Regions from separate parts of the Homo sapiens genome. Here all the other regions are linked to region 6. Evidence: promoter capture Hi-C in 16 types of primary human blood cells and fetal thymus (Javierre and others, 2016). All regions are on one chromosome and are shown on one strand. The core of a region is centred on a gene start or on the middle of the fragment in contact, and the rest is flanking DNA. Distances in the headings are between cores, read along the strand shown.

The links. Contacts are between HindIII fragments. The CHiCAGO score rates a contact against its expected background, and 5 or more counts as called.
Region 1: a fragment that was not itself captured here is called in contact with the fragment with the promoter of LINC02881 in region 6 in 13 of 17 cell types (M0 macrophages, M2 macrophages, M1 macrophages and 10 more); the score reaches 13.6 in M0 macrophages.
Region 2: a fragment that was not itself captured here is called in contact with the fragment with the promoter of LINC02881 in region 6 in 1 of 17 cell types (endothelial precursors); the score reaches 7.7 in endothelial precursors.
Region 3: a contact is called between a fragment that was not itself captured here and the fragment with the promoter of LINC02881 in region 6, in 11 of 17 cell types (M2 macrophages, total CD4 T cells, M0 macrophages and 8 more). The highest score is 10.3, in M2 macrophages.
Region 4: a contact is called between a fragment that was not itself captured here and the fragment with the promoter of LINC02881 in region 6, in 12 of 17 cell types (M0 macrophages, M1 macrophages, monocytes and 9 more). The highest score is 12.5, in M0 macrophages.
Region 5: the fragment with the promoter of ZNF32 here is called in contact with the fragment with the promoter of LINC02881 in region 6 in 3 of 17 cell types (endothelial precursors, megakaryocytes and M0 macrophages); the score reaches 7.5 in endothelial precursors.
Region 7: a contact is called between a fragment that was not itself captured here and the fragment with the promoter of LINC02881 in region 6, in 10 of 17 cell types (erythroblasts, megakaryocytes, endothelial precursors and 7 more). The highest score is 9.9, in erythroblasts.

Annotation. Positions count from the first base shown.
Region 1 is chr10:43,686,125-43,689,726 of GRCh38, reverse strand. No RefSeq gene overlaps it. Among named protein-coding and RNA genes, the nearest start is that of ZNF32, 39 kb to the right of the region's middle. The HindIII fragment of the contact is 9,619 bases long and covers 1-3,602 here.
Region 2 is chr10:44,872,897-44,877,045 of GRCh38, reverse strand. The region is part of intron 2 of TMEM72-AS1 (TMEM72 antisense RNA 1); the gene reads left to right. Among named protein-coding and RNA genes, the nearest start is that of TMEM72, 36 kb to the left of the region's middle. The HindIII fragment of the contact is 1,689 bases long and covers 1,272-2,960 here.
Region 3 is chr10:43,723,193-43,727,295 of GRCh38, reverse strand. No RefSeq gene overlaps it. Among named protein-coding and RNA genes, the nearest start is that of LINC02658, 54 kb to the left of the region's middle. The HindIII fragment of the contact is 1,927 bases long and covers 955-2,881 here.
Region 4 is chr10:43,706,370-43,710,551 of GRCh38, reverse strand. No RefSeq gene overlaps it. Among named protein-coding and RNA genes, the nearest start is that of ZNF32, 60 kb to the right of the region's middle. The HindIII fragment of the contact is 5,182 bases long and covers 1-4,182 here.
Region 5 is chr10:43,646,675-43,650,419 of GRCh38, reverse strand. ZNF32 (zinc finger protein 32) reads left to right here and starts at 1,539. Exons shown (of 3, transcript NM_006973.3): 1 at 1,539-1,618. All of the region lies in intron 1 of ZNF32-AS3 (ZNF32 antisense RNA 3), which reads right to left. ZNF32-AS2 (ZNF32 antisense RNA 2) reads right to left here. Exons shown (of 3, transcript NR_047558.1): 2 at 3,211-3,308; 3 at 2,401-2,851. RefSeq lists a silencer at 1,514-2,033 and an enhancer at 3,585-3,745. The HindIII fragment of the contact is 4,172 bases long and covers 1-2,374 here.
Region 6 is chr10:44,291,127-44,294,970 of GRCh38, reverse strand. LINC02881 (long intergenic non-protein coding RNA 2881) reads right to left here and starts at 2,221. Exons shown (of 3, transcript NR_164139.1): 1 at 2,038-2,221; 2 at 1,482-1,670; 3 at 322-1,058. It overlaps LOC124902544 (a long non-coding RNA gene), which reads left to right. Exons shown (of 3, transcript XR_007062369.1): 3 at 17-1,057. The HindIII fragment of the contact is 4,267 bases long and covers 554-3,844 here.
Region 7 is chr10:43,664,990-43,668,657 of GRCh38, reverse strand. The region is part of intron 1 of ZNF32-AS3 (ZNF32 antisense RNA 3); the gene reads right to left. Among named protein-coding and RNA genes, the nearest start is that of ZNF32, 18 kb to the right of the region's middle. RefSeq lists a silencer at 1,161-1,340. The HindIII fragment of the contact is 8,678 bases long and covers 1-3,668 here.

The sequences.
Region 1 (3,602 bases), core at 444-2,943, 600 kb after region 6:
ACAGCTCCGGGGCCACCTCGGGCCAGGGTCTGGCCCAGTGGACCTCGCCGGCTCACAGTGGTCACCAAGACACTCACGGCACCCGAGTCCTGCTCACCCCCAGCTTCCGTCCGCTTTCTGACGCTGTGTCGCACGCCCTCACCCCCTAACCACCCCCCGCACCCTGATGCCCTCCGTACCCTCTCTCCCATAGTCCTGGCCTCACTGGGAGCTTCAGGCCACTAATCTCACCTCCGTCCCCGGCTCCTCCTGTCCTGCCCCAGCTGGAACTCCATGGCCCTTTCCTTAAAGCGCTGCCTTGAAGACGCCCTGGCCCCCGGCTCAGCCCCTCACCCTCGCGTCCCTCCTGCTCTCCGCCTGCGCGCCGCCTCGCCTGGGCAGCTGGAGGTGTTTGGAGAGGGTGGCTTTGTGCATTATGACCCCGGCATCCTCAGGGGGACCCACGGCTGCTGGGAGCTAATCCCCCTGCAGCCCCGCACCTCCCACCCGCTCCACTCCTCAGCCGCCCAGCACCTCTAAGTATGACGGCCTTGTTTCTGTAGCCCTGAGAAGGCAGGGGGTCAGGGGATCTGCACAGGCCGCCTCCGACACCCCGCCCCCGTGTGCCATCTGCTGCCCCCGCGGCCCCTGGTCCTGCCCTAAGACCTTCCCAAGAGCTCTCTGGGCCAGGCCCCCCCAGGCCATCTACTCAGCCACCGGCCACGCCCTCACCTCCAACTTCCCCCTCCTCTAGGGTATTCCAGTGAAGGCCAAATCCAGTAGGAATTCTCCACGTTACCTTTCAAAGGCCCCCTCAGGACCCCACACCTCTTTCCCCAGCAACCTCCCCCTTTCCCAGCACCCGTTTCCGCACAGCTCCTATTTCTCCTTCACACCCTGACACATTCACCTTTACCCAGCACTCCACCAAAACCACTCAGACATGGTCAGTCTCTTTTCCGCCTCGCCCTGCTGCACTCTGAGGTACTGGCCACCGCTAAACATTCCCAGCTTGCAATGCTTTCCCACAGGAGGGTCTCAGCCTGCCCCTCGCTCCCCAGCCCCTCAAGCCTCCCTCGCAGCCCCTGTAGCCCAGGAGAGCCCAGCTTCAGGCACAGTCCCTGGCCCTCTGGAGGCACGCTCCTGCCCCGATGACTTCACCCACCCTCACTGTTTAAAGGCCACCTTTCCGCCCGTGAGTCACCAAGGAACAGCCCTCTCCCAGCCAGCTTCTCACACCAGCTCCACACTCGCCTTTCCTGTAGTCCACCAGACAGCTCCTCCCAAATGCCGAATCTTAAATTGAAAACACAAAGGGCAAACTCCTGATTCCCCCCCCCCCCCCATAAAAAAATAGTCCGCAGGCTGGGTGCGGGGGGGGCTCACGCCTGTAATCCCAGCACATTGGGAGGCCGAGGCAGGCAGATCACAAGGTCAAGAGATAGAGACCATCCTCGCCAACATGGTGAAACCCCATTTCTACTAAAAATACAAAAATTAGCTAGGCTTAGTGGCGCGTGCCTGTAATCCCATCTACTCGGGAGGATGAGGCAGGAGAATCGCTTGAACCCAGTAGGCGGAGGTTGCAGTGAGCCGAGATTGTGCCACTGCACTCCAGCCTGGGCGACAAAGCAAGACTCCTTCTCAAAAACAAAACAAACAAACAAACAAAAGCAGTCCGCTGGGAACTTCTTTGCCTTTCTTTCGGTTGCTTAGATCCAAATCTCATTTGTCTTCAACTACCCTGCTTCTCCTCCATCCAAACCCACTGTCAGCAAATCCTGCTGGACTTGCCTACAAGGAAAACCCAGAGAGCAGCCACTTCTCGTCACCTCCCTCACGCTCAGCCCAGGACACGCCACCACCGTCACTCCCAGAATCATGTCGCGTCCTCCCTCTTCTTCCTACTTCTGCCCTTACCGACCCCTCCAGGAATCTAGTCACAACACAGCAGCCAGAATGGTCTTGTTAAAGCATTAAGTGAAAGTCATGTCACTTCTTTGTTGAAAATCCCTCAATGGCTTTCCATCCCAGAGTCCTAAGATGTCCCAAATGGGCCTCCTCTGCTGAGCACTTCCCCTTCTCCACCCACAGTGGCCCCCCAAACTCCCCAGCTCAAGCCCTCCCCGCAATGCCACCACCATCTCCGGGTCTCCACAGCACCAACCCCCTGCTTGGAATGCAGCCCCCACGTCTCCCCGCTTGCTCCCTGATGCCTTCAGCTCTCTGCTCAGAGCTCCCTGCACAGCAGGCTCCTTCTGGCCACCTTATTTAAGACTGCAGCTCTCTCCCTCGTCCCCACCCCTTCTTTTCCTCTTCCTCACTCTAGGTTTCCAAAGCCCTGACCGCTTTCTCTCATTCGATGTGTCCTGACTTGCTTATTGTCTTTCATCCCTCACTAAACATGTGCTTCAAGCAAGCAGGGGTTTTTTTTTAAGAGACAGGGCCCCACTCTGTTGCCCAGACTGAAGTGCAGTGGCTTTTCACAGGTGTGATCATAGCCTGCAGCAGCTTCAACCTCCCAGGTTCAAGCAGTCCTCCCACCTCAGCTTCGCCAGTAGCTGGGATGACAGGCACGTGCCACCACCGTGCCCAGCTGATTTTCTTCACTGCTAGATGCCCCTTGCTAAGACCATTGAGGAGGATCTAGTGGATCTTTGCTCACTAAATGCATGAGGGAATCCTATATCTGCCTTCTCTCCGCTCTTTCCTGCCATTTCCATCACATTTTACTCTTGCTCTGCTCCGTAAGGATTTCTCCAGGTGGAGTCTTTCCTGCCTCAGATTTTAGAGTCCATTTTGGGACTCACCGCCTCTAGTGGGTTTTGCTTTAATTTGGGCCACTGTGGACCATTTCTATTTCTAAGAACACTCCCTTGTTCTCCCACTGCTGCTTTTTCATAATTGCCTACACTTGTGTTTAATCAAAGTTCTGGCCCCTTAATGCCCTCTGAGATGCAGGCTGAAATTGTGTAAACGTGTTTCTGCCTTCTATAGTAACTATTTGGGTCAGGGTATTTTGTGGTTCTAAGCACTGCTGGCTTGCTGACCCACCTGGACGTCTTCTGTGGCCCATCCACATTTGTGAATTTGATTAACTGCCATGGAGCTGGTGGGATTCTATCAACCGGATGTTGAGGCTCCCCTAGAGGCATCCACATGTAATTATTTGAGTTGAAGGAAAGGCCTCCCCACTGAGAGATGAGTGAGCCTTATACCTTACACCTTTCCTTCAGGGTGTTCAGCTAAGAGGCTGACCAGCAGAACAAGGCCCTCTCAGAAGGGAAGTAGGTGATCAACCACATGGGGTCCTCGGGGTGCACCCGCCTCGGCTAACAGGGGGCCAAGCTGAGCCCCGGGAAAAGCTGTGGCCTGCTGTTCTGTGTGTGCTCTGAAAGAGTTCCGGAAATCTTTTCCTTTATTCTCCCATAACTGCTTCCTGACCCACCTGTTCCTCCAGCCTCTGGACTTTAGATTTATTCAGTCAGATCTGTAATTATAACAAGAAGAGCTAAAATCATCCTGACATTTGCTGTATGCCAATATTGTTGTCAGGACTTTATAGAAATTAACTCATTTAGTTAGCTCATATCACCCCAATCAAGTAGTTACTATTGTTTTGC
Region 2 (4,149 bases), core at 867-3,366, 580 kb before region 6:
GGGTGCCCAGACCCAGTAGGTTGTTGCTCTGCTGGCCCATACTGTAGCAGTGACTTGGCTTGGTAGACCTGGGAGGCCATTGTGTTTTTATACTTACCACAATTCATGCATGGTCTGCCCAATGTGTGGGGTTAGTTCTGCCCGTTGATTCTCTTCCTCTTGTTTCATGGTACCCTTACTGTAAGGGGAGTGACCAGAACTGGCCACACAGTGGGCATCTTCTAGGCACTGTCCTGGCCAGGAGGACAAGGCCGCCTTTTGCACTGGTTCCCCTGTCAGGTCAGGCCTTGGCCCACCACCTGTGCCTTCCATGTCCTCCTTCCTGTACACTCACGCACCCCTCCCCTGGTAACCATGTTGCCTTTACACCCATGAGCCCTGCTGTGGTGCCCTTGCCAGGCACAGTGAGAAACACAAGGGTGACCTGTAGACGAACTGGGCTGATATGGGTGGATCAAGGCCCAGAGCTGTTGTATAGACGCGTCAGAAATACATGCGTATGAGAAGGGAGAGTAATGAGAAGAACCTCATTCACTGGCGAGTGGGGAGGAAGGTGCTGGCAAGAGCCTGGTATGGAGCTCAGACTAGAGGTGGACCAGCCTTGTCTTTAGAGCTGTATGAAAGCTCGAAAGCTGCCCCCACCCCAACTCATTCACCCAGTCACAAAGATAGGTGACCTGTCATCAGATGGCTTCTGTTTCCCGCTAACAGTCTAGTAACACAGATGAGCCCATTCTCCTTAGCACCATTCTCTCCACCACCAACACTTACTGGTCACCTCTGGATACTGGAAGGAAGAGGTGAACTGGAAAGACAAGACCACTCTCTGCCCTCAAGATGGGGCTGTGTCTAGCTAAGTGAGATGTGTGTGTGTGTGTGTGTGTGTGTGTGTGTGTGTATACACATATATGTATAAAGACAACCATATTTATTTGTCTATATGGGACTACATCTCTGCATAAACACTACCATATGCAGGCTCTGAGGTCAAAGTTCATCCTTACCTCAGCTAGACAGGAGGATCCAGCATTTTCTAATTAATAAAATACCTCACAGCTTTCCTTATCCTGCTGTAGTTGGACATGGAATTCTTTTGGTTATTCTGCTTAGGAAAAGTAGCCTCTGCATTAAATGCCAAGCTCTGTAGGGGAGCAAAGCCTATGCTTTGCTTAACACATAGAATGGAATTGCATTAATGTGAGAAAGCATTTCGAAAATGATGGAGTCTGTAGAGATGCTAGGAATTGTTTTCATGATCATTACCTGAAGCTTCATCCTAAAATGTGCTGACTCTTAATTTAAGTATATGCAACCCAAAGTTATCTAGGCCTGTCAGCCTCAGCCTTAAGCTCTAGTCTTAGCACTGTGATGCATGAAGAGAAATGTAATTTCTACTCCAAAAGTGTTTTAAGATAACATAAGATTGGCCGAGCGCAGTGGCTCACGCCTGTAATCCCAGCACTTTGGGAGGCAGAGGCAGGAGGATAACGAGGTCAGGAGATCGAGACCATCCTGGCTAACATGATGAAACTCTGTCTCTACTAAAAATACAAAAAAAAAAAAAAAAAAATTAGCCGGGCATGGTGGCAGGAACCTGTAGTCCCAGCTACTCAGGAGGCTGAGGCAGGAGAATGGCGTGAACTTGGGAGGCGGAACTTGCAGTGAGCCGAGATCGCACCACTGCATTCCAGCCTGGGTGACAGAGTGAGACTCTGTCTCAAAAAAAAAAAGAAAAAAAAAAGATAACATAAGACTTTAATTAAGTCTTTGGAGGGCTGGCATATCAGGGGTGCGACACACAGCAGAAGATTTCCAAAAATCCTCACACATGTGCGCCACTGTCCTTGTCAGCATGGCCTTCTCCTCACCCTTTCATGGGCCACAGTCCCTCTTCTGGCCTCCCCTAAAAGCTCTGGCAGGCCCTCTTTCATGACCACTTCCCATCTACCTCTTCTTATAGCTCTCCTGGTGCCCTGAAGTGACACCTTAGCACAGGGTGAGCCTCCTTGGCATCCTTCAACACCACAAACAATTCAGGACCAGGCTTCCACTGACAGGTGGGGAAAGGTGCTGAGTACTTTATGCCATATTGTTGCCTTTGTGACATACTCTATAAAAGCCACTCAAGTTGGGTCTAAAGTCTTCTTTGATTTGCATGAACTGTAGGTATTAACAGTGGGGGAAGCTGCACCTTAATAACTCTTGGTGAGGGGTCCCCTGTGGAGTCCACCAGGCATGGGAATTTAGCCTCACTTACTGATGAGGAACTGAAGAGTCAGAGGGGCGATTTGACTTGCCCAGATCACAGAGCTCTTAAGGGGGCACAGTCTGGTCTTAAACTCAGTTCTTCTGGCTTCGAGTTGAAGGTCATGTCCACAAACTCCCAGAGCAAGAACTGAGTCTCAACTCTGACCTTTGGATTGTGCGTGCTACACCAGGAATCACAGCTTCACAGGGAATAAATGTAGACTTGTTTCATTGCACAAACTGGTGGCATTTCTACCAGTCATAGTGACTGAGAGATGAGCAGTGCTTTGGCACTCTAACTGGGTGACCCTCATCTCCCTTGTGCCACCTGAGCCCACCCAGGGGAACACTCCCATCCAGCTATCCTGGTCAGGGCTGCATTGAAACCACTGGTTCCTCCAGGACCCAAAGCCGCTTTTCTGGATGGAATGTAAATCATTCCTACCTGGGGCCCTGCCAAGCCTTGGCAGGATTCAATGTGACATTCAGTTCCAGATTAATCCAAGTTGGAACAGTTTTGCTGAAGGTTTAGAGACCTTCAATTTATTTATCTTCTGAAACCCTGAAACAGCTTTAATAACATAGCTTTGGATTTCTGCAAGTGAGATGTATGGGCTCAATAAGTATTATTTTTACAACAGATATCCATAATCATTATAGTAACAAAGGCACCTTCCTATATTTCTTTAAAGTTTGTTTCTTTCTTTTAAGCTTTGTCCCAGGAATGGGGTCTGTAATTCAGGGACCTGTAGAAGTTCACAGTGTGAGAGGAATGAAGTGTCCAATCTGCAATCTGAATCTTCCCTATGAAATTTCCACCTGGTGCCCTCCAGCGCAGATTCTCGCACCCACAGTCCTGCCTTACAGGGCAGACCATTTCCTCTCTGACAGTACTACCTGTCTGAATGTTCTGCTTCAAACTGAGTCAAGATATGTGAACCCTGGGTAGAAGAATTATCAGGTCTGGAGGGAGCACAAGCAAACTATCCCATTTTATGGACGTGGAAACCGAGGCCTGAGGGAGAGACGCACCAGGAATCAGGAGATCTGGCTCTGATCAGCTGTACAAATTGAGAATTGTGACCTGACCTTGTCCAACCCAAGTGGCCCAACTCCTAATTCTGTGAGTGACATGTCTCTGTTACTTTGGAATATTGATTGAAGGTATGTGATTACAACTTTTTATTATAATATTCTGAGACAATTTTTTATTATAATCTTATGAGAAGCTAAGGACTGGGTGGATATTTTCCTGGGTTAAAAGTAAAGTTTTTCTTGTTGAAAACTTAGACATTCAGAAAATTTTCAAATTGTTTTTATTATATAGAAACTGTAGATTAGAAACATATTGTATGATGATTGTTCATGATGCTTCAGCGTAATCACTTCAGCAATGTAGCAATGACGCCATTCAGGGGCGTTTTCAAAGTGTGGCCTTGGGCCAGCACCATCGGCATCTCAGGAAACTCTCACAGGGACAGCCCTGCTCTACTGGATCAGAAGCTCTGGGGCTGGGACCCAGCAATCCATGCTTTAACAAGCCCGTCAGGGGCTTCCTATTCATGCTGAAGTCTGAGACCCACTGTTACGGAATATTGTCTTCCTGATCTTGATAGTGTGATGGTAAATTTTATGTGTCAATGTGGCTAGGATATGCTGCCCAGTTGATTGGTCAAACACTAGTCTAGAAGTTGCTGTGAAGGTATTTTTTAAACATTTAAATCAGTAGACTTTGAGAGAAGCAGATTACCCTTCATCATTTGGGTAGGCCTCATCTAATCAGCTGAAGGCATTAAGAGAAATGACCGAGGTCCCATGGGGAGGAAGGAATTCTGCCTCCAGACTGTCCTGGAACTCAAGACTGCAACATCAACTCCTGCCAGCTTTTCCAGCCTGCCAGCT
Region 3 (4,103 bases), core at 669-3,168, 570 kb after region 6:
CTGGACATTTCAAATGATGTAATGTGGCTGCTCTGAAATTCAGGTTCTCTCCACTCCCTGGGATTTCTTTTTGTTGCCACTTATTGTTGTTCTTGCTGCTGCTGTTTGTTTGTTTTAGTGACTTTCCTGAATTAATATTGTAGACTCTGCCTTTTTGTCATAAATGACCGCAGAAGTCACTGCTCAGTTAGCTCAGTGGGCAGCTCACAATTGTGCATAGATTTTCTTAACTGTCTGAAGCCAGTAAGTCTCCCAGTCGTTGCCAAGGGATTGTGAGTACGTTTTGGGAAATGCCTTCTACACTCAGCCAAGTAGTTGACAGCTCTGCCTTAGGCTCTCCTTTTTGCTCTTCAGGACCTCAATATCAGCCAGAAGTGAGAACTTAGAGCTTCTCAGCTCTTTCCTGAACACATGCACGGCCCTGGGCATTTGCACAACCCTGTTCATGCAAGTGGCCTTCCAGGTTCCTAGGATGTGTCAGAGTTTTTCAAAGCCTCCTTTGGACATCTCAGTCTCTAGCTTTTCCCTTTGGGTTTTTATGGTCAGCTTGTCATTTGCCCCAACTATTATCATCACCTCAGGCAGCAGTGATGCTAAACCATCACCACTGATTGTTTTTGACAAATGTCACTGAGGAAAAGGTTATTTGCACTGGGCAAGCTCTGAGTCAGACCAAATAAAGACAACTCTTATGAGTGGGGAATGACTAGCAGGTCAAACAATGGCAGTTCTCTGGGAATGGGTCTTTGGAGAAGCTGCAGCCCCATTCTGGCCCCTCCACTGGCTGCTGGGCTGCTGTCTTTTACCTCTGCTGTGGGCTGTTGGCTTCCAAGGCTACTGCCAAGCTGTACAGGGAAGACAGAAATAGGGCTCGTTAAAATGTTACAAAGCTTGCTATTCTTACCACAACTTAGTGTTTTTCTTGAGTAAGTGCTTTCCAGATTGTGACAAGCTTTGTTAGTTTCCAGAGTTCTGAAAAAGTTAATTTTCACAATTCTTAGCAGTATTATTGCTAGTTTTATAAAGAGGAGGAGAGGGGTTTGAGATCCTTGCTCCACCATCCCCACTGACATCCTCTTCACATGCTGGTAGAACTATATTAGAGTTATAATTTTTGTTTTAGTTGTCAAACAAACTAGAAAACTTAGGAGAAGAAAAGACTATTGGGCTTAACCATATTTTTGTTCATCCTGTTCTTGCTTTCTTCCTGATGTTCTCAGATTTTTCTTATCATTTCCTGTTTAGAGAACTTCCTATAGCCAATCTTTTAGGGTAGGTCTGCTGGCAACAAATTATCTTAGCTTTCCTTCATCTTTAATGTTTTGATTTTCCCTTCATTCGTGAAGGATATTTTCACTGAATATAAGATTCTGGGTTGACAGTTCTCTTTTTCAGCACTTGTTATGCCACTTCTTTCTAGTGTTGGAGGTTTGATCTTGATTAATCTATTGTCATTTGAACTGTTTTTCCCTGTGGGTAAGGAGGTGTTTTTCTCTCTTGTTGCTTTCAAGACTTTTCTGTCTTTAGTTTTCAGAAGTTTGACTGGGGTGTGCCTTGGTGTGGATCTCTTTGGGTTTATCCTGTTTGGGGTTCACTCAACTTCTGGAGTTTTGTAGGTTTCTGGACTTCACCAAATTTTGGAAGTTTTCAACCATTATTTCTTGGAGTACTTTTTCAGTATCTTCTTCCTCCTCTCCAGGTGGTAATTATTCCATTTTTAATATTCTATCAGATTACTTTGTATCAGTCTATAAATATGCTGCTAGATAAGTATAGTTAATTATTTAGAATTTTTATCTATAGTTGTAAGTGAAAATGGTCTTGTTATAGGTTTGGAATTATGGTTGCAGTAGCCTTATAAAACAAATTGTGGAACTTTGTAACTTTTTCTATGATCTAAAACAGCTTAAAACAGAAATGACATACTATAATTAGCTCCTCTCAAAATCTATTTGAATTTGGTTCTTTTTTTGAGACAGAGTCTTGCTCAGTTGCCCAGGATGGAGTGCAGTGGAGTGATCTTGGCTCACTGCAGGCTCTGCCTCCCGGATTCATGCCATTCTCCTGCCTCAGCCTCCCGAGTAGCTCGGACTACAGGCACCCACCACCACGCCCAGCTAAATTTTTTTGTATTTTTAATAGAGACAGGGTTTCACCATGTTAGCCAGGATGGTCTTGATCTCCTGACCTCGTGATCTGCCTGCCTCAGCCTCCCAAAGTGCTGGGATCACAGGTGTGAGCCACCGCACCTGGCCCGAATTGTTTTTAATTAAAGCTATCTAAGTACTTTTCTCACCTCTTCTGTCACTTGTGACAGATCTGTTTAGTATTCTCCTCCTTCTTAGGTTAATTTTGGTGATTATCTTAGTCTATTCAGACTGCTTTGTCAAAATCTCATTAAGTGGGTAGCTTATAAACAACAGGAATTTGTTTCTCACAGCTCTGGAGGCTGGGAAGTCCAAGATCAAGGAAGCAGCAGATTTGGTGTCTGGTGAAAGCCTGCCTTCTGGTTTGTAGACAGCACTTTTTTGCTGTGTCCTCACATGATGAATGGGGTAAGGCGTCTCTCTTGGGCCTCTTCTGTAAGGGCACTAACCCCATTCATGAGAGCTCCACTCCCATGACCTAGTCATCCCCTAAAGAGCTCACCTTCAAATACCATCACCTTGGGGTTAGGACTTCAATGTATGAATTTGGGAGGGGACACAAACATTCAGACCATAGCAGTGGTTTACATTTTTCCTAGAAAATCATCTATTTCTTATATAATTTCTGTTCATATTTGATGTCATTGAGTTACATGTTATACTACTTATAATTTTTAATATCTCTGTTATATCTGTAGTTAGTTTTGCTTTCTCTCCTTTTCCTTAATCAAGCTTGTTGGGTATTTGTAAATTTAATTGGTCTTTTGAAAGAATCAGCTTTTGTATATTTAATTTGTCTTCCGTAAAAACTGTTTTTGGTTTTATTTATTACTGCTACTATTTTAATGTCATTAATTCTAACTTTCATCTTTGTCAATTGCCTCCTTCTACATTGTTCATTTCTTTGGTTCTTCACTTGGGTTTATGATGTATAAAACCAACTTCTTTTAGCTCCTCAGAGTCTCACTCCATGTGTGATTCAGTTTTCTGGGCTTCAAACCACCCAGGACATTGCTTAGCAAAGCAGGTGCAGCAAGAATGAGTGGATGAAATTATTGACATTGGATCTCATGGTACTGAAAGTCTCCTCATCTATAGCCACATGGCTGGGGTGCCAAAGAACTTTATGAGATGTGTATCTTTGCCTTCAGAGAGGTTAATTTCCCAAGAGTTGGGGTTGGAGGAGAAAAAGCCTGAAAGCCAAAGAATGCAAGGTCACATTAAAGTGTCATCAGAGGAGTAGAGGCTGCAAATCATTTCAGTTCTGCTGGGTCCAACCCAGTTCCTTCTTAGCTTCTCGTCTTGCATTCTGGTAACAAATGTGAGGACATCCAAGAAGAAGGCTATTTTACTCAAAATCCTGGTGCTACAAACAAGAATATTGCATACACTTGTCTAGTGGATAGAGCTTGTGACTTAAGCCCTCTCACTCAGGCATTGTAAAGGATGCTAGAGACACCGCAGGTACATTTTGGAGCTTGAAATTAATCAAAAGATCAACAACATCTCAGCCTTTTTGGAGCACCTTGCAAAATATACAAGTTTACAATATTCTGCTAACTCCCTCTAAACTCCTAAAAGCTCGACAGTGATTTTGTTCTCCCAATTTCCTGAAACCATCGTACCCACTGGATTGGACAACCTCAGCTGGTGGCCATGTGTGCTATAAGAATCATCCATTTTGGACATTAGATTTGGAGAATATTTCCCTGGTTCAAGCAAAAAAGCTCTTCTATCTTTCTGTCATAACAGTCATTTCCACAGTAAACTCTATAGGCCTCTTTGTAAATTTGGAGGCTAAGCAAAGAGGAGAGAGACATTTTCCCTCTTTTGAGAGTAGGCACGTGAGTACCTTAGAGGCACAAACAGCTCTCAAGACTCACTGTCATGCCGCTTGGTTTCCAATTCTTTGCTTTCAACAAAATTGAAGGAAAACCTAGTGAATTTGTCAGCTGA
Region 4 (4,182 bases), core at 1,244-3,743, 580 kb after region 6:
GCGGTTGCACCTGCTGCAGTGCTGTGTGTAGAAGAGGTACTGCTATTCATGCCCTGCAGACCCCCTCTGGTGCCACATCATGATGCACCTGCCCTCTCCTGTGTGAACAGATACAGACTGAGCATGCAGCCAAGAGTCAGAAGAAAGACCTGGTGCTAGTCCCACATCCTTGTACTTACCGGCGTAGTCCCATATCCTAGTATTTACCGGGCTAGTCACATATCCTTATACTTACCAGGCTAGTCCCACATCCTTATACTTACCGGGCTAGTCCCACATCCTAGTACTTACCAGGCTAGACCCACATCCTAGTACTTACCGGGCTAGTCCCACATCCTAGCATTTACCAGGCTAGTCCCACATCCTAGTACTTACTAGGCTAGTCCCATATCCTTGTACTTACTGGGCTAGTCCCACATCCTTGTACTTACCGGCGTAGTCCCATATCCTAGTACTTACCGGGCTAGTCACATATCCTTATACTTACCGGGCTAGTCCCACATCCTTATACTTACCGGGCTAGTCCCACATCCTAGTACTTACCAGGCTAGACCCACATCCTAGTACTTACCGGGCTAGTCACATATCCTAGCATTTACCAGGCTAGTCCCACATCCTAGTACTTACTAGGCTAGTCCCATATCCTTGTACTTACTGGGCTAGTCCCACATCCTTGTACTTACCGGCGTAGTCCCATATCCTAGTACTTACCGGGCTAGTCACATATCCTTATACTTACCGGGCTAGTCCCACATCCTTATACTTACCGGGCTAGTCCCACATCCTAGTACTTACCAGGCTAGACCCACATCCTAGTACTTACCGGGCTAGTCACATATCCTTATACTTACCAGTCTAGTCCCACATCCTTATACTTACCGGGCTAGTCCCACATCCTAGTACTTACCAGGCTAGACCCACATCCTAGTACTTACCGGGCTAGTCCCACATCCTAGCATTTACCAGGCTAGTCCCACATCCTAGTACTTACCAGGCTAGACCCACATCCTAGTACTTACCGGGCTAGTCACATATCCTTATACTTACCAGGCTAGTCCCACATCCTTATACTTACCAGGCTAGTCCCACATCCTTATACTTACCGGGCTAGTCCCACATCCTAGTACTTACCAGGCTAGACCCACATCCTAGTACTTACCGGGCTAGTCCCACATCCTAGCATTTACCAGGCTAGTCCCACATCCTAGTACTTACCAGGCTAGACCCACATCCTAGTACTTACCGGGCTAGTCCCACATCCTAGTACTTACCAGGCTAGACCCACATCCTAGTACTTACCGGGCTAGTCCCACATCCTAGTACTTACCAGGCTAGACCCACATCCTAGTACTTACCGGGCTAGTCCCACATCCTAACACTTACCGGGCTAGTCCCACATCCTAGTACTTACCGGGCTAGTCCCACATCCGTGTACTTACTGGGCTAGTCCCACATACTAGTACTTACCAGGCTAGTCCCACATCCTTGTACTTACCAGGCTAGTCCCACATCCTTGTACTTACCAGGCTAGTCCCATATCCTTGAACTTACTTAGTGCCTGGAACATCACTTTCTTAATTTTTTCAAATAAGATGACAATACCTCCCATGCTTAATTCACAAGACTGTAATGAGAATCACATGAGATAATGTATGTCAGCAAAATATTGCTGAAAATACTCTCCACTCAATTATGTTGCGAACCTGAAAATGCTCTTTAAAAATAATAAAATCTACTTTTTTAAAAAAGTGGCCCTTGGAGAGGTTAGCCAGTTTTCTTTCCCAGTCTCTGGACTGATTCTGTGGAGAGAGCATGGGAATGACTCAGTGGTGCAGCCCTCAGTGTGTCCCTCTGCCAGGCGGGAAGGGACTCCTCAGGCCCCACAAGGGGCATTACAGGCTGCTGCCCTTCTGCCTGCTGATAACCCAAAAATTAAGGATATTTGGGACACAGACTGCACAAAGGAAATGCTGGCTAATGAGAAACACAAATGTAAACACCATAAATCAAAGTGCCCTCTCTAAGTGGATGAGTGCAGTTAGGAGGAGTAAGGTCCAGGCCAGAGCCAGACGAGGCCCGACCTGGGGGGGACACTTCTCACACCAGGGACAGTGACCACATGGGGGGAGAGAGGTGTCCCGGCACAGGTAGGGCCACCACCCACTGTGGCCATAACTGAGTGAGGTCAGACTCAGAAAAATGTGAATGTCTATACAATAGGGTCAGCAGACTTTATTCACTGGACAAATAATTTCTTCATAATCAGGATAATTTTATCCATCACCTCTTAAGGGTAAGACATGAATGGTTTCCTTGTACCACTAGAGGAAATTCTGCTCAGAAACCAAGTGCTTGTTAGGGAAACTATTTGATTAAGTATTCTGGGTGAATATAATACTGATCTCAAACAACTGTAGCTGAAGTCATCACAAGTACAATGGTCATTGTAAGCATAAGAATCAGGGGCATATTTTATTTCTAGGTAAAAACTATTTTTAAGATACTTCATAAATCACTGGCAAGGTCAACCACACTAAACATTCCAGAACACACAGGGGAAATCTCCGTGGGCGTGCCCAGACCTCTGGGCTGCAGCGATGCATTGTTCTGAGGCTTCCTGCACGGAGCTGTCCCCGTCGTCAGCAAGTCTGCTGGGCCCAGAGCAGTGCCTGCGGGAGGCTTACTGTGACCCAGCTGTACAGGTGCAGCAGACACCATGGTCCACACCGCCAGTCCCCACACAGTGCGGTGATCACTACGAGGCACACCTACTGCAGGCCCGCTGTCTTCATGCAGCAAATAAGACCACAGCAGCCTATAGAGCTGTTGAGAACATGAAGTGGAGTAACAAAGACCGAGCACTTTACACCCGGCCTGTCATTCGGCCAGTGTTCATCATTTCACAGATAGGGATAATCACTTTTTATCCCAGGCCATGCTGATCACCTTACCCAGGTGCATTTAGTGGTAGGCTCAACCCCAAGCCTACTGCTGAATACACATGAATGCATGCATGAATAATGAATCGCGAATGAGCGAAGAGTTCCCTATTTTTACAGACGAGGATAGCAAGAATCTGAAAAGGCAATATAATGAAAATTGTGACTGGAATTCACAATTTCTTAACCAGGAAAGCAGGTTAAATGGGAGACCACTAAATGGCAGGAGGCCGTCATGCTTTTCTGTCCTCCCACTTTCTAGGTGTGAGAATACAGATGTGATGGCTGGAGGTCCAGCAGCCACCACAGACTCTGAGTTGACCTTGAGGACAGAAGTTGTGTTCTAAAGCTGACAAAAACATAAAGATAGGTGGTGTCAGTGTCCCTCATATCTGTGGGGCAACTCTGTTGTCCCTAAGCACACAACCCACTTTTCACTAATAGAGGCCAGAACATGTCTATCTGATTCTAATCATTGTTATGTTTGGTCTCCATTACTAGAAGCCAAATACATTTCTAACTGAAAAACAAATATTCTGGGCTGGGCGCAGTGGCTCATGCTTATAATCCCAGCACTTTGGGAGGCCGAGGCGGGCGGATCATCTGAGGTTGGGGGTTCAAGAGCAGCCTGGCCAACATGGTGAAACCCTGCCTTTACTAAAAATAGAAAAATTACCTGGGCGTGGTGGCAGATGCCTGTAATCCCAGCTACTTGGGAGGCTGAGGCAGGAGAATCGTTTGAATCCGGGAGGTGGAGGCTGCAGTGAGCCAAGATCACGCCACTGCACTCCAGCCTGGGCGATAGGTCTCATTTCAAAGAAAAAAAAAATACATATATATATATATATATTCTATGTCATCCCCATCTCTCCTTACAAACTGCTGGCCCCTTCCCCGCCTACTTCGCTGGGCCCCACTCCTCTCCCTTCTCTGAATACTGGATCAACACAGGGCTCAGGCCTGGGCCCTCCTCAAATCCCACAGCTAATTCCCCTCACTCCTCCCAAACCTCTTTATCTCCCACTCGCCAATCTCAGAACATGTTGTTCAGGCCAAAAGGCTCAGAATCTTCCTGAATTCCTCCCTCAGGCCATGAGCACAGCCCACATCAGCCCACAGCCCCCTGCCCTGGGCCCCGGCACGTGCCAGCCCTTACAGCCTGCCCCACACGCAGCCTCAGAGGGTCACTTTTCCACTCGTACCCTTCAACGGTGTCCTGTGGCCCTAAGGACAAAATCCATGT
Region 5 (3,745 bases), core at 290-2,789, 640 kb after region 6:
TTTCCTGAGACGCCTTAAGGGAATTTATGCAGATCTATAAAAGTGACGATGGTCCCCCCTCACAGCCACCTTTTCCCACCAATGCTTTGTCATGTACCTTCACGGCAGGATCTGAAACTTGTCCTAGTGTCCACAGCCGGTCTTGACCTTAACAGAACCTATGTACCCTTGTGTGAAGCAGAGGCCGCAGCCTTAGGACTCTGAGCCTTGGCCTTTGCTGTGTGCCGCCCTCCACCCCTTTCTCAGACTTGGGAGGAGTGAGGAGAGGAGCCACCTGGGGCAGTTCAGGAATGGGGAGCTTCAGGACAGTTTGCACCACACACTCTGGGACTTAGCTGTGCAACACCCCGACCCCCATGTGAGGAAGGTGGTGTTTGTTTGCTCCACCAGACTGTCAGCTCCTCCCTAGGAGCACGGAGTGTGTCTTGCTCACATTCGTATCCCCAGTGTCAGCACTTAAAATGGATTCAACGGATAAATGTTGAATGAAATTCAGAAATGATGTGCAATAGTAAAAGCTAACATTTAGGAATCAACTTATTACTTACAGACACCTTTGCATATTGAGTGAAATTAAGTTGTTTGATTTAACAAATCTGTGGCTTTGGGGTAGAGAACAAGAACATAGCAAGAGGAAGCATTCTTTATTAGTCCTTCACGAAAGAGGATGGACAGACACATCTACGGAGAGGGGCTCCAGAGGCAGGGACCCAGAGATACACCCGGCCAGGCAGAACAGCTCCAGGATGTGGCCCCGATCCTGGAAAAGTGCGTTTAAAAGAGGCTTAAGGCATATCAGACAGCCTGGCCAACATGGTAAAACCTTCATCTCTACTAAAAATACAAAAAAATTAGCCAGGCATGGTGGCACAGACCTGTAGTCCCAGCTACTTGGGAGGCTGGGGCAGGAGAATCACTTGAGCCCAGAAGGCGGAGGTTGCAGTGAGGCGACACCGTGCCACTGCACTCAAGCCTGGGAGACAGAGTGAAGGAAAAAAAAAAACAGGCATTATTAGAGAGGCTTTATCTCCTACGTGTTCAAAAGCAACCATGCTCCTCCCAGTATCTCAGGACGACTGGACTGCCTGTGTTCCTGTTGCTCTTCACAGAAGCTCCATGAAAGCGGGCTTCGCTTTTGTTCATGCAGCCAGAGGCTCAACACATGACCTCGAAGCCGCCAAGGCTTTATCAAACGGATTTCTCCCAAAAACTTCGTTTCCTTCCGCGACGCCCTGCAAGAACCCTGTATTCCTGAGTCCCTGGCTCAGCGTCTGCTACCCCGATGCTGTCAATCAGATCCTGCTAATCTGAGCGGCCGTGGCTCCGTCCCGGCTCCGCGTCCGCTGACAGGTCACCGCTGTGAGTCTCCGGATTACCAGTCCAAACGGGACGGCTTGAGGTCCCCGCGCCCTAGGGACCTGCGGGGCCCGAGCGCAGGGCGCGCCAGAGAACTACATTTCCCACAGAGCTCTTGGGAAGCCGGGGCCGCCGAGACCCACGGCCCGGCGGGCGGGCTCGCGGGGAGACTCCTGGGAGTTGTAGTCCATTCCGCCGGCGCCGGCGCTGGCGCTGCTGCGGGCTCGGCGCCGGCCTTTGTCTGCGGGCACGCGCCGCTGCGGTGAGTGAGGCCGCTGGCCGGGTCAGAGCGCCGGGGCAAGGCGGGGCTGCGCCATCAGACCGCTGTCCCGGGCCCTCCGTGTGGCCGCCTTATGCCAGCGGCCGCCAAGGAAATGAGCAGGCCTGGCCGGCCCGGGCCCCGAGGGAGGCCAGCCGCGAGCGGAGAGGTCGGCGGTCCGCAGAGCAGGGTCCCGTGGACCGGAGAGCGGGATGCCGAGGTTCAGGACGCAGGGCGGGCCCGGTGCCCGGGGCCCGGGGCCTGAGGCGGGAGGGCAGCGTCTGCGGAGAGGAGCAGGGCCCATGGCGTCGGGGCGTGGGAGGGGGAGGCCGCGGCAGGCTCACCCGGCCTCCGTGCGGGCTTCAGCGAGTGCGGGAAGCCGGTGCCGGCCTTCCGGGGTGGGAGGAGAGGCAGCCCCTGCGGGGGAGAGTAGGAAGCCAGGCAGCGTGTGGGAAACCACGCTACCCACAAGCTCCTAAACCTGAAACTGGCCCCAGGACATTTTCCAGACCGCCAAGTGTACCCCTCTTCTCATCCGCCCTCCAGAGGACGCCGGATTTTAGATCTTAAGTCTGGTGGTCTCGTCTGATACTCCTCTTGTTTGGTTCTTTCCTTCTCATTGTCCTACCTGATAGGACAGTGTTAGTAACCTGTTTAATAAGTGGGGAAGCAGAGTCAGGGCTGCTGGGTTACTCGCCCAAGATCATATCCTGGGGGAGCCACGGCAAGAAGCCAAGACTCACGGACTACTTCTAAGCTTTTTCCAAAGGATATAGTAGCCTTTCTAATAGGAAAATCAATGTTTTTAATTATAAAGCCACTTTTACAAAATCTTGGGGAAACTGCTTCCTCAGACCTGTGATCTAGGGAGAAAAATATGACAATTTCTCCCTTACTAATCACGGAGGTCCCTGATAGGCGGCGGAGTTGTAACTTGAAGACCTCACAGCAGGTGGAGAGGCAGAGCTGTGAATTCTACTCTAATTTCTGGAATCCCCGGCGACAGAGTCCAACCCCAGGCAGCAGGCGCCATGTACCCCAGGGACTTTTAATGTGTGTGCAGCTGTTGAGCAAGAATACCTTGAACTTCCAAATGATGTGCTGGCATGCTGGTAGGGAATTCCTTTGCAGCTTGTGTTCCAAGTTGGAAGTGAGTCCTCCAAATAAAAATTTAAATGATTCTCCTGGTCATCACAGCATGTAGCAGAATGTGCAGTTGTCAAGAAGAACCAGGTGCTTAGGTTGACAAAACAAAGAATGGTAGCATCATACTATTATTTCATTAAATCAGAAGGCCAGCATTTTGATAGGACAAATTAGAGGGAAACAAGGAGTATGCATTGAACCACTGCATTTCTTAAAAGTATAAGAATTCAGTAATTAGGATCCTGAAGTAAGAAGAAATATTTTTTTTAAAAAATAGATCATGTGGGCCAGGTGTAGTAGCTCATGCCTACATGTCTTGGGAGGCCGAGGCAGGAGGGTCACTTCAGGCCAAGAGTTGGAGACCAGCCTGGGCAGGATAATGAGACCCGATCTCTACAAAAAAAAGTTAAAATAATTTTTAAAAATTAGCCAGGCTTGGTGGTGCTTACCTGTAGTCCTAGTTATTTGGGAGGCTGAAGTGGGAGGATCCGTTGAGTCCAGGAGTTCAAAGTCACAGCAAGCTGTAATTGAGTCACTGTACTCCAGCCTGGGCAACAGAGCAAAATCTTGACTCAGAATTTTAAAAAAATTAAAAAATAATTTAGAGCACATACAAGAGGATTCCTAGGATCTGAAAGAGCACTTCAATCTGGTCAAACTCTCTTCCTTTCTGTTCAATTTTATAAGCATTCTGACCAGCTCTTTAGTGATTAGGAACTAGACAACTGTCTAATGTAAGAGCATACATTTTGGATCCAGAAAGTCTTGGATTTGAACCTTTGCTCCACTTTGACTCCTTATTTTCTGTGGGTTTCTGGGCAAGTTACTTAACCTAGTTGGAGTGCCTTGGGCTTGGAGTCCAGAGTAGGTCTTTCTTTTCCAAGAATTGACAAGTGTTTACACTTGGTCAGAACTGGTATTCTTGTATCTTCAAGAGCAAGAGAAAGGCGAGTCTGGGTCTGGAGCCTCCTAAGAATTGTTCAG
Region 6 (3,844 bases), core at 972-3,471:
CTTGCCTTGCTCCCAGGCCCCACAGAGGCATCCTTTCAGAAATGGCAAGCGCCGCCCCTCAGGATGGGGAGTGTACTGAGGCGGAGGTATTATGACGCATTGCCCAGGAACTGATTACAGCCTTTCTGAAAATATCAGAACAAACCAAAGTACTTTTTTTCTCTCACTCAACAACAATCAACACAGAAGACTTCTGTGACCAAATGTGTGGGTTTTCTCCCCACCACAAGCAAGAAGGCAGTTCTACATCGGACAATTCCAACATCGACACCTTCTACCTGGAGGTGGCCTCACACCCCACAAGCCCAAGCCTCATGTCCCAAGCCTGCCCTCCACTTCCAATGCCAATGGCAAGGTGGTCTTACCTGTGCTTCTGACCCACTGGCGTTCCCACGAATCAATGTTCCCAGGACGCCTCCTAACACTTGAATAATTCGCTAGAGCAGCTCACAGAGCTCAGGGAAAGGCCTACTTACATTTACTATAAAGGATGTTACAGAGGAGAGAGACACAGAGATGCCTGGGGCAAGACATATGAGGAGGGCGAGAAGCTTCCATGCCCTCCTGGGGCTGTCGAACTAAAACGAAGAAGCTGAAAGTTTTGCTCCAAATGCCATTGTTTATCCATTTTTGACCACCTGATCTGTTCCATTAGCTTCAAAAGATGCCTTTTCATTTGTTTCGTTTTGCCTTCGATGGCCTTCCGCCTGCCGCAAGCAACCCTCTAGAATATGGGCCTGTGCTTGGCTTTTCTACACAAACATGAGCAGCCTTCAATTACTGGGGGACATTCATTTCCTCCTTCCAACTAGAGAGCGAGGAGTGTCCCGGGGAGAGTGGGTCCTTGAGCTCCTCTGGGCCTTGCTTGGGACTTGGTCCAGGAGGTTATGGGAAGAAACTGGTTTAGAAGCTGACCTCATGGGTTCGCTATTCTTATGTAACACTTAGGAAGAGCAGAGACCCACGCGATTCAGTCCCAGAGCAATGTTGCGGTCAAGAGAACACAGTCCAGCTACCAACAGTTATTTCAAAATAATTCAAGCTCTTTGTTTATATTTCTGAAAGAAAGAAAGAAAAAAAAAGGGTGGCCCAGCTGGAAACTCGGCTTTAAGTCCCCTTTCAGGGGGCCCTCAGGTGGGCACCTGCTTGGAAACCTCTCCACCCCTCCAAACACCCTTTTCCTCTCTGAGTGTTCATTTGTTGATCCAGATTCTGAATAAATGAAGCCGTACAGAATCCACCTGGCAAAAATGGAAACTGCCTGGAGGCCAGGGCTGAGGGAAGGCCTGGAGCAGAGCCGGTGCGCGACCTCGCAGTGAGCAGGGAGGGCAGGCTGGGGACGTTCACCACCCAGAACGCCTCTGCTCCCCGCAACCCTGAGACTCCAGGCTCCCCTGTTCCTCCCTCCGGGAGACCCTGCCCGTCCTCCCCGCGGGGCTCCTTCGCAGTTCGGGGGAAGGGACGGGTTGCGTCCTCGGGACCTTTCTCTGCAGCCACAGCAGCGCATCCCAGCACCTCCTCCAGGAGCCCCGCCACCTCCTGCCACCCGGACTTTCCCCACAGCGCAGCGTCCCCTCGTCCTCTCAGGGCTGGAACAGCGGTACCCGCAGACAGTGCAAAAGGGAAGTCCCTGTTGCCTTCCCATGCAAACTGTAGGGCGCTTACAGCTGCTGGGAGAGGAAAGGAAAGAAGAAATACAGTGAGTGTGATATGGGTACAAAGAAACCAACACGGAGCTTCCGTGGGCCTAGAAAGGAGCCCCCAGGAGAAGTACACTGGGCCTGCGTCATCGCCTGCCTTCAGCGGGCTCCATCCTTCCCCAGGCCCCCCTCCCCACCCACCTCCCACCCGCGGTCCTCCCGAGGCCCCCCTCCCCGCCCCCCCTTCTCGCTTCCCCATCCCCCTCCCACCCGCGGCCCTCCCGAAGCCCCCCTCCCCACCTCCCCACCTCCATTCTTCGCCTCCCCAACCCCGCTCCGAGTCTCCCCGCCTCCCTATCCCGCCTCCCACCCGCGGCCCTCCCGACGCCCCCTTCACCTCCCCACTCCCGAGGCCCTCCTGAGGCCCCTGGGCTCCCGCTCCTCCGAGTTGCCTGCGGCCGAGTCCTGGCGCGGCCTGGGACTGCCTGTTGGGGGGAGGGGGTGGGGGGGGGTCGTTCCCAAAGAAGGGGAAGGAGGCCTTTCGTGAGCATCTGAGGAGTACATCCTCATTTTGTCTTCTCACTCTGTCCACCCAGAGCCTGTGACCCGGATCCAACCCGCGGCGCACAGACCCCGGCTCTGGGCACCCCTGGTGAGCGCCTTCTGCGCCAGAGCTCCGTACAGCACCAGCCCGCGCTCTCCCCCAGCTTCTGTTCATTTGCTGCAGTCCTGACGGGTCAGTTGCCTGAGCATCCATGCTGCCATCCATACAAACCCAGGCACGCAGAGATGTACATCCTTTACCCAGGGTGACACCATGTGGAGCTGAATCCAAGTCCGGGAGTCTGATGACCGTGTCTGGGCTCTGACCGCGCAGCCGTCTCACAGTGAAACAAATTGCGGACTGGCCTTGTCCTGAGTGGCCTTAGGAAGCTGCAGTGGCCTGCAGTCTCCTGGCCAGTCTGTAGAATTTGGCAAAGATGAGGCACCTTATAGCCTTACATGTTCTTATTTTTCTTTCCTTTTCTCTTCTTTATTTTCTTTTTTAAGGATTTGAATTAGTATATGTAAAGTGCTTAACGCAGGAGCTGGCAGAGAAAGTGGATACTCAGTAAATAACAGCAATTGTTAATTGTAAAAAGCATGCCACTTATCTGGTAAAATCCCCCATTCTAAGCACCCTGTTAAGTAGTTGGTAATTCCTCACTTGAAAGAAATTAAAAAGAATTTTTGTCAGTTTTTTAAAATATTGTTTTATTGTGATAAAATATTCATAACATAAATTTCACTCTTTTAATACTTTTTAAGTGTACAATGCAGATTAATAAGAGAAATGCATACAAATTTATTAACGTGTACACGGGAAAAATAAGGTGATTACCCAATATCCCATGAGGTCCAGATACTTATACAGCGTTTTTTCAGAGAGGAGGGTGGAAGGCGGAATGTAGGTGATTCTGTTGAGGGGCAATAAATTATTATTAAGGAGAATGAATGGGTCAAGAAACAGAGAGTTATTCGTAAATGGTTCTCTTTGAAAATTTAATAAGCTGGAGAAATGGATTATTTTTTTGAAAGCGTCTGTTCAGGTGTGGTCACGTGTTGGTTTTCTTTTCTGCAATAGATAATGAGATAAGAGGGAGGAGAAGGAAAAGTAATTGTTCTCTTTGGTGGGTCTGCAGGGTCTTCATGTAGATAAGGGAGAGGACTCTTCCAGCTTCTGTTGATCTTGAGGGACTTTAATTGAAAATACTCATACCAGGGAGCCATATTTTGGGGCCAAGTTCCCTGCGCTCCTTCAATCCTCCTGTTTGGAACTTCCCTAGAATTTCACATTATCAACAGCTGAATCAGTGATTATGGAGAGATTTGGGTTAGAGGAAAAGAAGGCAAAGAAGGGGAAAAAACAAATTGGGATAAGCAGAAAAGAAAAATAAATAAATATGTTGTCCCATATCTTCTTGAATCAGTCTCTTAGTCCTAAGAGTAGAAGCATTTGGTCAAACAGCTGTGTCCATTCTAGGAGGTGGCACTACAGAGGGGCTGGGCTTCTACAGCTGATGCAGGCAAGCTGGTCTTTAATAAGAGGCATTTCTATGGAAACAAAGAAAAACAAAGGTTTTTCTTAATGTCTGGAATAGTCCATAATAAACTAGTTTTTCTAGAGTCTCAGAAGTATCTTCAGATTGTAGTGGTAATCTTAC
Region 7 (3,668 bases), core at 428-2,927, 630 kb after region 6:
AGGGGCAGGAAGAGTTGGGAGAGGAAGCCTGATACAGGCCCAGGCCCCAGGCCCTGCTCACTCCCCTCAGCTCCTTGGGCTGAGTGCAGTGGGCTTGAGGGTGGATGTGCAGTGGCCTCCTTCCCGAAGTCTGAGGCCTTGGTCTAGGGCTGAGGTTGAAGGACAGCCTGGATGGCACAATACCAAGGCTCTTGGAGAGGCTGTGTCACCCGCCTCAGGGGTGCAGGTGGTTTGGGCACATTTGGCACCCACAGCAGCCCCATCTTCCCTGAAAGGCTGAGGAGGGAGGGCAGCCAGAAGTTCCATGGGGACCCCGGTGGACTTGAAAGCTGGACAACCCAGGCGAATCTGATCGCTGGAGTCGGAGGTGCGGAGGCTGCAGTGAGCCGTGATCGCTCCACTGCACTCCAGCCTGGTCGACAGAGCAGAACCTTGTCTCTAAAACAATTAATTAACATGACTGAGAAGTGACTAACTTGGCAGAATTCACCAAGAAGGGGTCGACTGCTCTCTATCAAGCATGAAATAGGGGCTAGACTAGAATTACAGAACATAATGGGAGTTAGGTTTTTTTCGTGGGCGTCCTACTGGGAACTCTGCACCCACGGCCAGGCCTCCTGCCGCGTGCGAGTCTTCTGACAACCCCCTGCGCAAGCGGGGCCCCTCCGGCCGCCCCGGGACGTGCGTGTTCCTCCCGCTCGCGGCCCACCCCACTCGCGGGGCGTCCTCCCGCCAGCGGGACCTGCCGTAGGAGGGGAAGGGAAGGGAAGGGAAGAAGGCCGAGTCGCCTCCCCTTAGGTGTAATCTGTGCTGCTGACTTCAGAAGGATGTCTTCGGGTTGGAAGATTTAACTGGGAGCGAAAGTCAGTAAACAGCCCACGAAACAAAGGCCAAAGCTCTCCAGGCCCTTCCAAAGGTTTTTCGTATGATGAAGCCCCGCAGTGGGGAGGGCCCCGGAGCGCACCCGCCGCGCCCCTGCTGGGAGCTTCCCACTCTCCGCGGAGGCTGGGGGCAGTCCCGGCCAGCGTTTCCATCAGCGAAAAACACCCACTAGGCCACGTCTAAGTCGCGCTTGGAAATCGCTAAGTGCGGGACCCTGGCTCGGGCCAGTGGACACCCGGACTCCCCGCGCGCACAGCAGCCCGGCCGAGCCTGGGCGCCAAGCCTGGGCCGGGCTCCACATGGCTCCCCTTGGCCCCAGGGAACTGTCGCCCCTGGGTTCCGCCGCGGCTGTCCTCTCGGCCCTCTGCTGGCGCATCAGCACAGTGGTTTTCCGAGGCAGGGGTTGGGTCCAGCCTGTGCTGCTTCTGAGCCGCAGGAAGTCGCTGAGACCAGCGTAAGGAGGAAACCCCAAAACCTCTAACTGGACAGGAGAACTCCTGAGGAACCTTCCGAGAGGAGGGGCCGCAGCTGAAGCCGGCAGGCAGAGACGGAGAGAAATTTGACGTCGTCATAATCAGCACCAATACATATATACATAAATACTTGGAAAACCACCCAATGTTAAATTTCAAATTAGAAACGTCCTAAATGTCCAACAGCAGGGGAATGGCTAAGTAAAGTATAATACCTAGCTAGAACAGATGGTACCAGCCAGTCTAAAAGGAGGGTTCAGAGTTTGCTGTAATTTTGGAAATTGTAATTAATACCCATTTAACTGAGGAGATAATTTTTATTAACTAACATGATCTCATTTATAGCTTTAAAATGTGCCTAAAAATAGCAATTGTCATGGTGATTTTATTTGTTTGATAGAATGGGTGACAATTCATATATGAATGAACAAGTTACCCCAAGAAGACAAACAGGTTAGAGTAACCTTGTGCAAAAAAAAAAAAAAAACTCCATCTGCTTCCGAAGGAGGCGTGAGGTTGCCTGTGTGGTGCCTGCCTTCTTGAACGTGGTGCAGAAGAGCTGGGGCTCTGCCCGGCAGTGCCCACTTCCTCTGTAACAGGCAGGATGATGTCTGCTGAGGAAAGAGCTGTGGCCTGAGGAGGGGACAGCGGATTCGTGAAAGTAGAGCCCAGGGAGTGAAGGAGGGATGGGATGGGGGATGGTTAGGGGACAGGGAGTCCAGAATCAGAAGCGTGAACCCCGGGGCCCGGGCCACTTGGGCTGGTGATGCAGCCTCCCAGCTTGGCAGCAGGAGGTGAGCCCTTGACTATGGCCCCCATGAGGTCCCCTTCTCTCAGGAGGGTAGTAATGGTCCCTGCTGCTGTGATTTGAATACTCCTCCCTTCAAAACTCATGTTGAAACCTAATCCTCAATATGGCAGTATTGAGAGGTGGGGCCTTTAAGAGGTGACTGGGTGATGAAGGTTCTGCCCTCTTGAATAGGTTAGTCCATTCCTGGATTAATGGATTGATGAAGGGGTTGATGGATTAATGTGTTATGCAGTAGGACTGTTGGCTTATAAAAAGGGAAAAGAGACTTGAGATGGCACGCTCAGCCCCCTGCCATATGATGCCCTGAACCACCTCTGGGCTCTGCAGAGTCCCCACCAGCAAAAAAAAATGCTCACCAGATGCACCCACTCAACCTTGGACTTCCCAGCCCCCAGAACTGTGAGAAATACATTTCTTTTCTTTATAAATTACCCAGTTTCAGGTATTCTGTTATAAGCAACAGAAAACAGACTAAGACCCCTGCTTCCTAGAGCTGTAGAGAGGGGCCCACACCAGCATCCACAGAGCACTAGGAAGAGGGCCTCCATGGCATAGGCACCCAGGAAATAAGTGTCCGCTGAACCTGTGGATTCACAGGTGCCTCTGATGGACTTCGGGATGGGCTGGTGGTGCCGTTAAAGACCAGTGGCTGCCTCTGCTGTGTTCGTGTTGTCCACATCACTGCTGGGATGACAAACCTGCAGAGGCTCCATCTGCACACAGTTTTGATGAAGCTGGAAATTCTCCCTCTCTCCTTGCACCTCTTTCTCAGACTTTCTTCAGGGATTTTTATGGTTTTCTAAATTATTTTTGCATAAACACTATTTTAACAGCAAAGAATAAAAATTTTTAAGTGCAAACATTCACACTTCATCTCACTGCTCTCAAATTATCTTTTACATTTTCATATTTATCTCCTATCCCTTCTCATATTCAGACATAATTTGACATAGTGCTAATTATAGCATTAATTCATATTCTGTCTTTGCTGTTCAAAGGAGTTTAGGGTAGATTGGTGGAAAAGTCAGATTAAATGAACGTGAAGCAAGGTAGCATCAAGCTGCCCCTCTGCAATCATAAGCATCAGATCTTTGGGAGGATCAACAAGTGTTACATTCAGAATAGCCAGCTTCAAGAGCAAAGGCAAACCCAAATAAGCCATTTCTGAAAATATTATCCCAAGTGTATTACGTGTGTGTGTCAAAATTATGCAATGGTTTCATGCAAATTGTTGAGTAGTGAATGAGAACATTGCCGTTTAAAACAAACAAACAAAAAGCCCTAGATGAGTCCAAAACCACTTACTGGAAGGAATGAAGAATTAAAGAAAATCACTAAACTGCAATAAGAGAGGATATATTACTAACAAGTCTGATGAACCAAGTGAACTAGATGCAACCCCTCTCTCTTTCTCTCTCTCTCTCTCTGTCTACACACACACACACACACACACACACACACACACACTCCCATCAGGAAAAGAGAGTAAGTTAGCATCATTT